Regions from separate parts of the Homo sapiens genome. Here regions 1 and 3 are each linked to region 2. Evidence: promoter capture Hi-C in human tissues and cell types (Jung and others, 2019). All regions are on one chromosome and are shown on one strand. The core of a region is centred on a gene start or on the middle of the fragment in contact, and the rest is flanking DNA. Distances in the headings are between cores, read along the strand shown.

Evidence for each region. Contacts are between HindIII fragments. The study calls those that stand out against the background at their distance.
Region 1: a contact is called between a fragment that was not itself captured here and the fragment with the promoter of KRTCAP2 in region 2, in 2 of the 25 tissues and cell types used here (H1 embryonic stem cells and dorsolateral prefrontal cortex).
Region 3: a contact is called between the fragment with the promoter of LENEP here and the fragment with the promoter of KRTCAP2 in region 2, in 1 of the 25 tissues and cell types used here (adrenal gland).

What each region holds. Positions count from the first base shown.
Region 1 is chr1:155,018,305-155,022,516 of GRCh38, reverse strand. DCST2 (DC-STAMP domain containing 2) reads left to right here. Exons shown (of 15, transcript NM_144622.3): 15 at 3,757-3,990. The coding sequence ends at 3,973. ZBTB7B (zinc finger and BTB domain containing 7B) reads right to left here. Exons shown (of 3, transcript NM_001256455.2): 3 at 3,994-4,212. Among named protein-coding and RNA genes, the nearest start is that of DCST2, 13 kb to the left of the region's middle. The HindIII fragment of the contact is 3,850 bases long and covers 507-4,212 here.
Region 2 is chr1:155,171,740-155,176,086 of GRCh38, reverse strand. KRTCAP2 (keratinocyte associated protein 2) reads left to right here and starts at 2,783. Exons shown (of 5, transcript NM_173852.4): 1 at 2,783-2,866; 2 at 3,195-3,349; 3 at 3,459-3,522. The coding sequence starts at 2,863. TRIM46 (tripartite motif containing 46) reads right to left here and starts at 2,238. Exons shown (of 10, transcript NM_025058.5): 1 at 2,058-2,238; 2 at 440-701; 3 at 1-199. The coding sequence starts at 2,120. RefSeq lists silencers at 1,700-1,994, 2,164-2,253 and enhancers at 2,003-2,511, 2,584-2,633, 2,834-2,933, 2,512-3,020, 3,124-3,403. The HindIII fragment of the contact is 7,811 bases long and covers 1-4,347 here.
Region 3 is chr1:154,992,283-154,996,653 of GRCh38, reverse strand. It overlaps LENEP (lens epithelial protein), which reads right to left and starts at 3,068. Exons shown (of 1, transcript NM_001394530.1): 1 at 2,339-3,068. The coding sequence starts at 3,046. The coding sequence ends at 2,861. It overlaps FLAD1 (flavin adenine dinucleotide synthetase 1), which reads right to left. Exons shown (of 7, transcript NM_025207.5): 6 at 3,868-3,941; 7 at 3,543-3,752. The coding sequence ends at 3,617. The HindIII fragment of the contact is 8,242 bases long and covers 1,551-4,371 here.

The DNA of each region.
Region 1 (4,212 bases), core at 1,182-3,681, 150 kb after region 2:
TCAAACCATCCTCTCGCCTTGGCCTTCCAAAGTGCTGGGATTATGGGATTATAGGTGTGAGCCATGGTGCCTGGCCACGGGCTGGATTTTGGGGGCAACTTGGTGGTTTGTTAGGCTGAGAAGTAGAGGAAAGCATTCCAAGGGGAGGCCTGTGTGGGTTTGGAGAATGTGAGGCATTCAGAAGGGTAGAGCCCAAGGGATGGGTGTGGCTGGGTAGAGACCTCAGAGAATGCTGGGAGATGAGGTTGGAAGTCAAGGTGGGAAGAGATGGGCAAGAACCTTAACTTGTCATTTGAAAAGCTTAGGTTGGAAAGTGATATGCTCATATTTGTCTTTTAAGACCATAAGCGGGCCGGGCACGGTGGCTCATGCCTGTAATCCTAGAACTTTGGGAGGCCGAGGTGGGTGGATCACCTGAGGTCAGGAGTTCGAGACCAGCCTGGCCAACATGGCGAAACCCCATCTCTACTAAAAATACAAAAATTAGCCGGGTTTGGTGGTGCATGCCTGTAGTCCCAGCTACTCGGGAGGCTGAGGCAGGAGAATTGCTTGAACCCAGGAGGCAGAGATTGCAGTGAGCCAAGATCACACCACTGCACTCCAGCCCAGCCTGGATGATAGAGTGAGACTCAGTCTCCAAAAAAAAAAAAAAGACCATAAGCAAAGAAGGCAGAGTGGAGGTTGGGCAGGAGCAGGGAGGTCAGAGAGAAGCTTGTCTTAGTCTAGGAGAAGTTCGTGATGGCCTCAGTACTGAAGTGCTGAGCGTGACTGGGATTTCTATGCTTGGGCCTGGGCAGGTGTTAGGGCAGGAAGATAAACAGGTTCTGGGGAAAGACGACTGGCCCAGTTTGAGATCTTTGAGGTGTCTGTAGGGCATCCAGCTGGAGATGCCCAGGGGGGCAGTTAGAAAAGGGCAGGGATCCGGGCTGGAGGTATATTTTTGGGGGGTTAAGTTAGAGACTGTAAGAGAGAGGATGAGCTAGATCATCCTGGCAGAGGGCATGGCAGGAGAGTGGGAGGGGACAGGGAGGGGAGAGGCTCAAGAAAGCAGGAGAGCCAAACATATGAAATCAAGTAGGGGGATGGGCACAGTGGCTCACACCTGTAATTTCAGCAATTTGGGAGGCCGAGGTGGGCCGATCACTTGAGTCCAGGAGTTCGAGACCAGCCTGGGCAACATGGCAAAACTCCATCTCTACTAAAAATACAAAAACTTGCCAGGGCATGGTGGCTCACGCCTGTAATCCCAGCACTTTGGGAGGCTGAGGCGGGAGGACCACTTAAGGTCAGGAGTTCGAGACCAGCCTGGCTAACATAGTGAAACCCCATCTCTACTAAAAATACAAAAATTAGCCAGGAGTGGTGGCACGCACCTGTTAGTCCCAGCTACTCAGGAGGCTAAGGCAGGAGAATTGATTGAACCTGGGAGGTGGAGGTTGCAGGGAGCTAAGATTGTGCCACCGCATTTTAGCCTGGGTGACAGAGGGAGGATTGGTCTCAATAAATAAATAGGTAATAATACAAAAATTAGCTGGGCATGGTGGCGTGCATCTTTAGTCCCAGCTTTCAGGAGGCTAAGGTGGGAGGGATCACTTGAGCCAGGGAGGCTGAGACTGCGGTGAGCCAAGATTGCACCACTGCACTCCAGCCTGGGCAATAGTACAAGACCCAGTCTCAAAAAATTAGAAGATTAAAAAAAAAAAAATCAAGTAGGATCATGTGAAGACAGGTGACAGGCAGTTAAGACATCACTGGAGTAGCTTGTGGGAATATTTTTCATGGCATCGGGAAGACCAAAACTGGATCTGTCATGATGGGTTGAGGGGTGTCAGGTAAAGAAGACTCAGAAAGGCTGGGTGTGGTGGCTCACGCCTGTAATCCTAGCACTTTGGGAGGCTGAGGCGGGCAGATCACTTGAGGTCAGGAGTTTGAAACCAGCCTGGCCAACATGGTAAAACCTTGTCTCTACTAAAAATACAAAAAATTAGGCATGGTGGCAGGCGCCTGTAATCCCAGCTACTTGGGAGGCTGAGGCAGAAGAATCACTTGAACGCGGGAGGCGGAAGTTGCAGTGAGCCGAGATCGTGCCACTGCACTCCAGCCTGGGCGACAGAGCAAGACTCTGTCTCAAAATAAATAAATAATAAAAGGACTCAGAAATATGGTATGTGGCTCCTGCATCACTGTTGCCAGGAGTTTGATAATGCTTTTAATCTAATGAGTGCTGTAGTTTGAAAAAAATGTAAGCTTGATGGTGAAGAGAAAGAGAGAGTTAGCTTCACAGAGCAAGAAAGTAGCTTGAAGGGGATTCAGCACTAAAAGGGTTTTCTAGATCTAAGAACAGGAAGATTTGAGCATTTAGGCAGTGTAAAAGCACGTTGGGGAGGGAGGTTTGGGCTCCAGGGCCAGGTGGACCAGGTGGCCTGCCTGAGAAAGGAGCAGGCTGGCAGAGGCAGAGGGGGAGAGTATAGGTTCCCCTGAGCAGCTGAGCCCACTCCAGCCTGGTGGCCTCGCTTCTCTTTGGGGAGTAGGAGGCAAGAGCACCTGCTGAGAGAGCAGAGCAGGCAGCTGGGAGTGGAATAAAGGTTTCAAGGAGTGGGTGGTAGAGGTTGAAAGACCTGCCGTGGCAAGTGTGCAAAGAAGCCGACTAGGGAGGTTAAGGGATTTCCAGGTAGCGTCAAAGGCCCAGATGATGCTGGAAGCTGTAACTTGTAATGATTGCTCCAGTGCGCTCAGTTATGTGATTTTCTCTGGCAAATGTGGTAGCCATGAATAGGATTCACAGGTGGAGGGCTTTTTCTGGGCAGGTCAGGAGGACAAGATGGAGTGAGAATTGAGGTGTCTTTGGTAAGAGTGTCTGAGATGACTGGGGAAGAGGAGGGGCTAAGGCCCCTGGGGGCAGCCCAGGGTCTCTGTCTTGATGACGTGTTAGAGCAGGGGCAGTGGCCAGGAGGGAGAGCTGGCTGAACAGGAGGGACTCAGAGAGGGGGCCATGGCCAGGGAAGAACTCTGGAATGAATCCAGTGAAAGGCCAAGGCTGAGGAAGACGTCTGAGTGGGAACAGAGATGACGGTCAATAGAACCAAGGAGGTTAGGGATTGAGAGGCCAGAGAATTGGGTGGGTCCTCTAGCGACGAGGTTGCAGGACCATACAAACAGCAGGAGTCCAGAGCCGGCATCTTAAACAGATGTGGCAGGTGTCTGGCAGGCCTGAGGAGACAGCCACAGCACTGGTGGTACAGCTATCATGGCAGCCAGGGGCTTTGCAAAAAAACACTACGGGCCAGCTGGGTTTGAGAAGGTTAAGCTGCCTCCTCTTGGGAGGACTGCAAAGAAAACTGTCCAGTGGGCACATTCCAGTGTGAATGGGGCGGTAGAGGTCATGATGAGTCAAGAGGTTGAAGGGGAAGCAAAGCTTTCTTTTCAGAGGTTCTAGAGGGCCCAGTGAAAGGATAAGCTGGGTCAGCAGAGGGGACAGCTTGAGCCTTGAGCAGGTGTGACTACTGAGGTCACTAGTGATTCTGCCCTTCCTAGCCATGTGGCCTCAGGCAAGTCACTGCCCACCCCCCAGCATCAGCCTAAAATCAGAAAATATCTACAGCCATGGGCTGGTACGCCTCGTGGGCCTGAGAGAGCAGGAGTTGCTCAGAAAGAACAGGAGCTGGATCTGAACAGATGGGGCAGGGCAGGGGGCAGGGATGCACCTGTGAAGACAGAAGGTGGGTGATCCGGCCACCCCCTTCCTCTCCTCACTAGTGACCTGGATGAGGAGAAGGGGCCTCAGCAGAGGAAGCACGGGCAGCAGCCCTTACCTGAAGCCCATCAGCCTGTCAGCATTCTCACCAGCCCTGAGCCCCACAGACCACCTGAGACATCCTCCGCCACTAAAGGAGCCCCCACTCCAGCTTCAGAACCCTCAGTCCCTCTCTCACCTCCCTCTCTTCCTGATCCTTCCCACCCACCCCCCAAATAAACCAAAAGTGGACACAAGTGTGAATCTTAAATTATTATTATTTCTTCCTGTCGCTTACACCCGAGGTGGGGGAGTTGGGGTGGGGGGAAGGGAATAGGAGGGGGGGAGTGCCTCTCCCCCTAAGGCACTGACTGGGAAAGCCGAAAGTAGGGAGAAGGGAGGCCACATTGTCCCCACTTTCTGGGGCTGGGCCCCAGGTCTCCCCAGCCCTGGGCTCCCCCCATCACCTGAAATGCTAA
Region 2 (4,347 bases), core at 1,534-4,033:
CACAACTGGCACAGGATGGCACCTCCCACACTCACACTCTGGCGGTACCGCTCCACCACACGCTCCAGGGTCAGGTTCCGGAAAAGCCCTGCCAGACCCCGCTCCCCAAGCTCCACATCACCTTGGCAGGCTGGGCACGGGAACATGATCACTTGGGGGTGCAAAGCACCTCGCTTCCTCCCAGGGTATGTCCCAAAGCCTGTGGGTGAACCAGGGAGGTAGAGGACATGAGAGTTACAGCTGGCTGGGTGTGGGGAAGCCTGTTTAATTAAATTAGATTTTCATTGTGCCAGAGCTCAGCTCTCATTAGAGCCTGCGTAAGCAGTATCTCCACCCCCCAGAAAGACAGACAGATGCCTCTGACCAGTGATGGACTTCTTCCATCTTCCTGATGAATAGCTCAGCGTTCCCATCCCCACCCTACAGGCCCCAGTCCCACCTGACTTAAGCAGCCGGTCCAGGCGGTCTGGCTTGGGGAGAGTTCTGCGGGAGAGGCGGGGGCTGCGGGTGGAAGGGGTGGAGGCAGGAGAGGTGGGCTCGGAGCTGGGGTCCCCACCATGTCCTATGTAGCCCTGCTGGCCCAAGACCTCTCGGGCACAGGCCTGGCACACGTTGTGGGTACAGGGCAGCACCAGTGGCTGCTTGTACATCTCTTGACACACTGGGCACAGCAGTTCCTTCTCCATGTTCTTCATGCTGGTCTGTGGAGGGACCAGGAGGCTAGGTCAGCGCTTGGACACTTAGGCATACCTCAGCAGCCCCTTGGCTGCCCTTGGATACCCTAGGGGTCTGAGGAAGGAGCAAGACAAGCTACCTGCAGCTTTTCCAGAGCACCTGCCTTGGGCTGGTTCACAGACCTTCCCAGACCTCTGTCCCTTGCTTCTCTTTCCCCGCTGCAGAGCTAAAGGCCCAGAGGAGGGACGGTTGGAGCTTGTGCCTGCTCCAGCCTCAAGCCCAATCCCCATTTCTCCAGCTGCAGTAGCCCCAGCTGGCAGCCCCCTCACCTGCCTCCATCCCCCATCTCTGGGCAGCTTGCCCCTGGCATTTTTCTCAAGGACACCGCCCATTCTGCAGCTCCATGCAGACCCCCACTCCCTTCTCTAGCAGCACCCCCATGCCGTGATTCCTCCCGATAGCCAGGCGAGGTTGGCACTCCATCCTGCTCGCTCCATACGTCCTCCTGCCGCAGCTCCGGCCTGCGGCCACTCCAGCCTCCATTCCCCATCCTTCACTTCCCCATCGGTCTTACCAACCCATTCCCCTTCGCCCCCATCAGGCCCTCCCGCCCTCTCCCGCAGCGCAACCCGGTCAGCGGCACCCCCTTCTCCGAACTAGCGGGGGAATCAAGAGCCCCGCCTACTCGCCCCCTCCCCACCGGAAGTCCCCTCCCCCTCTTGGTGGCGAGAGTGGGGGTCCTCAGGCTATGCCCCACCCCCACACCTCACCTTGGTCCCTCTCTTCGCAGCCATCCCGGTCAGGGGCGCAGCTGACACAAAGGAGGGAGGAACAAGGAGGGGGGGAGGAAGTGGTGGGGGGGAACACGGTTGGCACCGCCCCTGGGAGAGCCAGGCACGGGTTGCCATGACAACCGCAGGCTCGGAAGCAGCCCTGAGTGGGGGTGCGTGGGGTGGGGTCTTGGGGAGGGGTCCAAATTGGGAACTGCACTGTGGGGCGGCTCCTACATCATCCCCCACCTGTCCTCAGTTTTCTTGGAAAATATCCAAGCTCACACGTCCCTCTTCTCATAACAGGGCCTTTCCCCTGAAGCCCCAGCCCCGGTGCACTGCTGGAGGCCACCCCAGCCCACCCGCTGCGTCTGGGCTGCTCCTAGCTCCTCCTCACGCTCCAGCACACCGACGCCTTCACGGCACTCACCTCCGGGCTGCTCCCGGGATTACCCTCTCATACCTGCATCCCGACCCTCCCAGCCGTTTCTGCCATCGCTAGCCCCCTGTCTACATCCCAGCATCTTCCTGGATCCCCACCTGTTCCAGGTCCCAGCTTGCCCCAGAACCCTATACGCCCCCTCCCCTTCCCTCGACCCCACCTTAACTCACACTGATGCGGACCAGTGCGTCCATGATGGAAGTGAAGGTCTGCATATCCTCACCCTCTGCCATGGCCCTACCGTGCCCGCCCGCCCCTGGGTGCCCGATCCCGGCTGCGGCTGCGAACCCCGGGCTTAATGCAGGAGCCCAGTGGGGGTGTGAGGAGGGCTGGGGGTTGAGGTGTCACTGCGCATGCTCCCGGGACCAGCCTCGAACAGCGCCCGTCGGGGTAGGGGGTGGGAAATAGTTCTCCCCACGTGGTTCTCGAAAGCCGGTCGGGGGGTTGGGGAATATGGAAAGGTATTTGACGGGGGAGCCATTTCTTACATTCTCATTTTTCATTGGCTCCTAATTTTACTCATATAAAGCGGGGGATTAGTTTCGGAGGAAAATGAGTTCCTGGTTGGGAGCACTAAATTTTAGGTTGGGAGATGTTGAGGCATGGGGCAGGGAGGTTTGAGGAACGTGCACTAGAGATGAAAGAAATGGCAAAGAAGACAGAGATGGGATAGATGCCACAGGCATGGGCCCAATGACTTAAAGAGATAAGTGCACCTTGTACAGAGTGGCAGCAGACGCACCAGGTACGAGGAAAGCCTGAGGACCAGGGCGGTGGCCGAGGATGCCCCCTCGACGCATTATTTCCTCCCTGTCGCAAGAGGGCGCTGCGTCCAGGCACTGAGAGGAAGAAAGAGGAGAACGCGAGGAGTAGCAAGTCCGCGGTAAGCGCTGACGCATGCGCATAGCTAACCGCACCCGGTTCAGCTCGCCTTTCTTGGCCAGAGGCGCCGGTTGGACTCACGGGCGGGGCATGATGGGTAACAGGACCGGTGGGGTCCCCAGGAAGTCCTAGAGGGGGTCGGGGTTTGGGTGGACAAGCTTTCCTCGTCCTCTCCCGACAGAGCTGACGTGTCCTGGGTTCCACCGGGAGCGGGCATTTCCACCGGACGGGAGGGTTCGGGGTGTCCGGGGCTGGGGAATACGTAGGGGTTGCCGCGCGGTGTGGGGAGTTGGGGCGTGTGGCTGCAGTCCCGGGAGTTCTTGGAGGGGGTCGGCCCACCGAGCTTCCGGACCGGCTGATCTGCCCGTAGCTTGCCGGAGGGAGGGCGGAGCCTGACTCTCCGTCCCTTCTCCCATCCCCTCCAGTGGTGGGTACGGGCACCTCGCTGGCGCTCTCCTCCCTCCTGTCCCTGCTGCTCTTTGCTGGGATGCAGATGTACAGCCGTCAGCTGGCCTCCACCGAGTGGCTCACCATCCAGGGCGGCCTGCTTGGTTCGGGTCTCTTCGTGTTCTCGCTCACTGTATCCTCCCTGCAGTTGGAGGGGGCGGGCCACGTAGGCATGTGCCCTTCCCCTTCCCCACACAGCTCTGTCCCCGTTGCACACCCTACTCCTTAACTCCCTCAACCAGGCCTTCAATAATCTGGAGAATCTTGTCTTTGGCAAAGGATTCCAAGCAAAGATCTTCCCTGAGAGTAAGTGAATATTGGAGCTTGAGTATTTGAACTTTCTCCTCTTTAACCTCCTGAAACATGATATTGAATTTCCAGATGCTTAGGTGAAAGGTTGTTAAGGAGAAATATATTTACTGAAGCTGTCTGAAGACAGATGACGCTTTTCGATTCTGCACCTTGTATAGCTCCTGGAGTTGGAGCTGGAAGAGAAGGCCTTTGAAAGCAAGAAACTTTGGTACCTTCTGGCCAGCTCCCAGGGAAGGTTTGAGGGGAACAGGCAAATTTGGGCTGATGTTTTGCATCTATTCGCTGGGAGGCGGTCCTTGTTCCCACCAGAAGAAGCAGCAGGACCAAGTTCACTATGGAGTTCTGATGTGAAGTTAACTCAATATTAGAGAATTCTACTTATTTGAGGGAATTGTGAAGAGCCTAAATACTAGAGGCACCAAATATCTATGGCAGCAGGAATCCTGACCAAATCAGAATAACTGTTAGATTATTTCCTGTTTGGAATAATTCTTGTTCAATTGCTCATGTAATCAAGAATTGATGATTCAGTTATTTATGGAGAATTAAGTTTATAAAGCAAATTAAGTGTCAAGGCCAGATTACTTAAGGAATGCCACGTGCTCAGAAATTCACAGCAGATGCAATCTCATGTAAAACCCTCATGTGGTAAAACAAAGATCTATCATGGTTGCCCTTAATCTTTTCTCTTTTTTTTTTTTTTTTTTTTTTGAGACAAGGCTTTACTCTGTCGCCTAGGCTGGAGTGCAGGGATGTGATCACTGAAGCCTTGACCTGGTCTCAAGCAATCTTCCCTCCTCAGTCTTACCAGTAGCTGGG
Region 3 (4,371 bases), core at 1,819-4,318, 180 kb after region 2:
AGCCTGGGTGACAGAGTGAGAATCTGTCTCAAAAAAAAAAAAAAAAAAAAAGACACATTGACCTGCCAGGGATAAGAAATAAGCTCAAGTTGGAGTACCGTAGAGGCTAGGCTGCTGTAAAAAAGAATGGACAGGCTCTCCGTGTACTGATGTGGGATCCTGAATCCTGTCCAAGGTTTATCAAAGGAAAAGAAGCAAAGTGCAGAACAGCGTGGAGAGTATGTTAACTAGGAAGAGTAATATATCCAGAATCCAGCCACCCCTCACTACTGCTATTGCTATAAACCTGGTCCGAGACCACCAACATGTCTGGCCTATATTGTGCCATTACCTCCTAATAGGTCACTCGTATTCTACCTTTGCTCCCCTGAAATCTATTCTCAACACAGCAGCCAGCTTGAGCCTTTTAAATTAAAAAACTCATTTCACACTCAATATTCGGCAATAGTTCCTCATTTCACTCAGCATAAAAGCTCAAATTCTTAGGCCCTCTATGACCTGCCCCCATTCCCACCTCCAGCTCGATTTCCACTTCTTTTTTCTATAGTGCCTATCATCTAATAACATATACATACTTTAAAAAATGTTTATAGTTTGTCCTCTCCACCCCCTAAAATGTAAGCTTCACAAGTACAAGGATCTGTTTTGTTCACTGCTGCATCCAAAGACCCACAGTGACATATAATATACACTCAATAACTCAATATTTGTTGAATGAATGAAGATGCAGTCTATGCACAGACTGGAATGTTCTCCAAGAAACTGGTAACCATGGTTGCCTCCAGGGGGAGCGCTAAAGGATTGGGGGATAGACGTGGAGACTTTTAACTATTAGAGTTCTTTTTTTTTTTTTTTTTTTTTTATAAGACGAAGTCTTGCTGTGTCACCCAGGCTGGAGTGCAATGGTGCAATCTTGGCTCACTGCAACCTCCACCTCCTGGGTTCAAGCCATTCTCCTGCCTCAGCCTCCCAGGTAGCTGGGACTACAGGCATGTGCCACCACGTCCAGCTAATTTTTTTGTATTTTTAGTAGAGATGGGGTTTCACCATGCTGGCCAGGCTGGTCTCGAACTCCTGACCTCAAGTGATCCACCCACCTCGGCCTTGTCCCAAAGTGCTGGGATTACAGATGTGAGCCACCGCGCCCGGCCTTTTTTTTTTTTTTTTTTTTTGAGACAGAGTTTCATTCTTGTCCCCCAGGCTGGAGCGCAGTGGCATGATCTCAGCTCACCGCAAACTCTGCCTCCCGGGTTCAAGTGATTCTCCTGTCTCAGCCTCCCAAGTAGCTGGGATTACAGGCACTCACCACCTCGCCCAGCTAATTATTTTTAGTAGAGATGCAGTTTCACCATGTTGGCCAGGCTGGTCTAGAACTCCTGACCTCAGGTGATCTGCCCGCCTCTGCCTCCCAAAGTGCTGGGATTACAGGTGTGAGCCACTGTACCTGGCCTGGCCTAAAGTTCTTTACTCTGGGCATATATCACCTTTACAAAAAGAATCTAGAAAAAAAAAAGAGTTAACTAAGAAGAAGGCTGAGGAAGAGCTGGTCCCAGGCAGGGAGGAAGAGGGCACTATCTATAATCTCCAGGCCAGTGCCCCAAGTGACAAAGGGCTGGGGGATGATAACTGGCCCCCCAGGAGGGGCCAGAGAATGCTGGATGGGAATCCCAGGGAAATACTGAACAGTCCCAAACAGGCTGGCTCTGAGGTTTGGGGGGCTGTGGGTGGGCAGATCAGTAAGCATAAGCACCCCCTGAGCAAGACGATACACATGGCTGGTGTATATCTACCACCGGGAGTAACTCATGGAAAATACCAGCTGTGGCTACCAAGAGGAAGTAAAGAGCCAATTCTGCTCAATCTAGCTGTTTATGTCCTGATAGGGCTGTGTCATGATAAGCCTGAGGGACCTGTGTGGCCACACAGGTGTCTTTCTCTGGTAACTTTGTATGTGAGCTGGGAGCTCTTGTAGCTCATGGGGTCCTACTTCCTTGATGAGCTGGGGACTAGCCTCAGCGCAGTGCTTTCCCCAAGATCCTCAGAGGCAGGAAGCTGCCTGGACCAGGTCTTCTATTTGGGAAAGGGCTGGGTCCTCTGGGTTTCCACACACCCTTGGCCTCACAGATGAAGACCCTACTCAAGCTGGGTCCCCTCCTTACCCACAGATTGAGAGGAACCTGAACTGTCTTCCACCCTCCCCACTCAGGAACCAGTGAGTCAGAAAACCTGGCTTTCAATCTTGGTTCTATTCAGGACAAGCTCCTTCCCTCCCTGGTCTGCACCCTTGCTCCCAGACCGTTCTAGTGCTGACTTTTTCTGATTCCCCTTTAGACACTTATAATCTTGGGCCTCAAGGCCTATGGATTATATTTATAATTCAGTGATTCTCAAACAGGTTTCTTAGGGGGCAGTCCATTCTTGGTACTATGAGGGTATGGTAAGATCAACCATCTGAGCTGGTGGGCTCACTGTGCCAAGCTTGGAGGAGTGCCAGGTCTTGCCACAATCTTACTGGGGTCCTAGCCAGAGCAGTCCAAGCTCCTGCCCACCAGAGGTCCACCAGAGGCAGGGGTTGGGAATGAAGGAGGCTCAGAGATGAGGCAGGTCTGCTAGATGACACAGCTCAAAGCAGGATCCACACTTTACTGTTTACTCATTGTTTATGGCCCATCCTTGGTCAAGCACAGCTGGCTTCAGGAGTCTTGATGGCAATTGGGCTGGGGGCTAAAGAAGAGAATGAGAAGCTAAGGCAAGCTCTGCCACAGAAGCTGCAGCTATGCCTCCTGTTTACTCTACCCTGCCCACCTGAGCGATGCCAGCCATGGTGCTGGTGGGGAGAGGAGGCAGTTCCCTGCTACCATTAATCCAGCAGTTCCTTGATACACCAGCAGCAGAGGAGGATGTAGGCGACTTCCTTCAGGGTCCGCTGGAAGCCCTCCCACCCTGTGCCCATCTTAATGACAGGCACCCGCAGCCCAGTGTCTCGAGGGGCCCCTCCGAGGAAGAAGGGTAGGGTTTGGGCTAGGGGCTGTGTCCGGGGCTGCATGTGGGCAACAGTTCCGAGGAAGGGTGTGGGAGCTGCCTCTAGTGCCTTTTATCAACACTGTCCCCACCCCCTTCAGCCTCATGACTACAGAGACAAAGGATCCAGGGTCTAGCAAAGGGAAGGTTCTAGGCCTGGGAACAGGCTGAGTCAGCCCCTCTAGACAGGGATGGGAGGGTGGGGTTAGTGGGAGGGAGGGCCTGGCCACTCCATCTTTCATCCTCCACAGCTAGGCCAAGGCAGCTTCCCCTCTTCCAGCCCAGGTGGTGCCCTGCCTGATTGCCCTTTTCCCAGTGGTTGGCACAACTCCTGCTTTCGCCCTCTGGTGGGCTCCTGCTGAGGCTGACATTGAGAACCATCAGTGAGAGCTCCTTTCCAGCCTGTTCTGCCCTGCCCCTGGGCCCCTTAGAGTGAGCACAGCCAGTCAGAGCTGGCAGCATTTGACCCACTTCTGCTTCTCCCATCCTCTGGAGCAGGAAGACACAGCTAGAGCAACAGGCACAGTGAGAGGCACGGTTTATTGCCAGGTTATACCCTAGGACGGTGTCCTTCCCTCCCTCCTAGGGTGGGAGGTCATGTGCGGGAGTTCCGCTCCTCTTCTTCGTTCTCCAGTAGATAGGCTGGACGGTATGTGGGGTGTCCTCCTGGGCTCAGGCACTTCAGGGCCGGGTTCCGCACGGTATTCTCCCGACTCCCCAGTGATGTGTATCTGGAGCAGGGAGGGTGGAGGGCAAGCATGTGGTAGGGTGGGCGATCCTATTGGCCCTCCCTATCCCAGCACCCTAAAAACTCCCTTACCCATTCCCTTCCCCTAATACCCTTACCCTCGGTCATACAGGATACAGTATGGGACAAACAGCTGACGCAGAAAATCCCAGATGTCTCTGTAGGTCCAGTCCTGGGAGGTCAGAGTAATAGAATAGTCACAAATGCTCACCTTTCCCACTTCTACCCCTGCTGTCCTGGGAAGGGGCCCATCCATGGCTCTTCTGCTCCCTTGGCCTCTGAGGGAGGGCTTGCTATCTGATTCTCTGGTATAGCTTGCTCTATGTATGCAAAGAGAAAGAGAAGGACTTCATCTTCTCCACTCTCTGCTTTCCATTCTTGAACCACCCTCTAGTGCAAGGGTGGAGCTTGAGGACAGGGAGAAACCGTCTATTTTTTTTTTGAGACGGAGTCTGGCTCTGTCGCCCAGGCTGGAGTGCAGTGGCGTGGTCTTGGCTCACTGCAACCTCTGCCTCCCGGGTTCATGCCATTCTCCTGCCTCAGCCTCCCGAGTAGCTGGCACTACAGGCGCCCACCACTGTGCCCAGCTAATTTTTTGTATT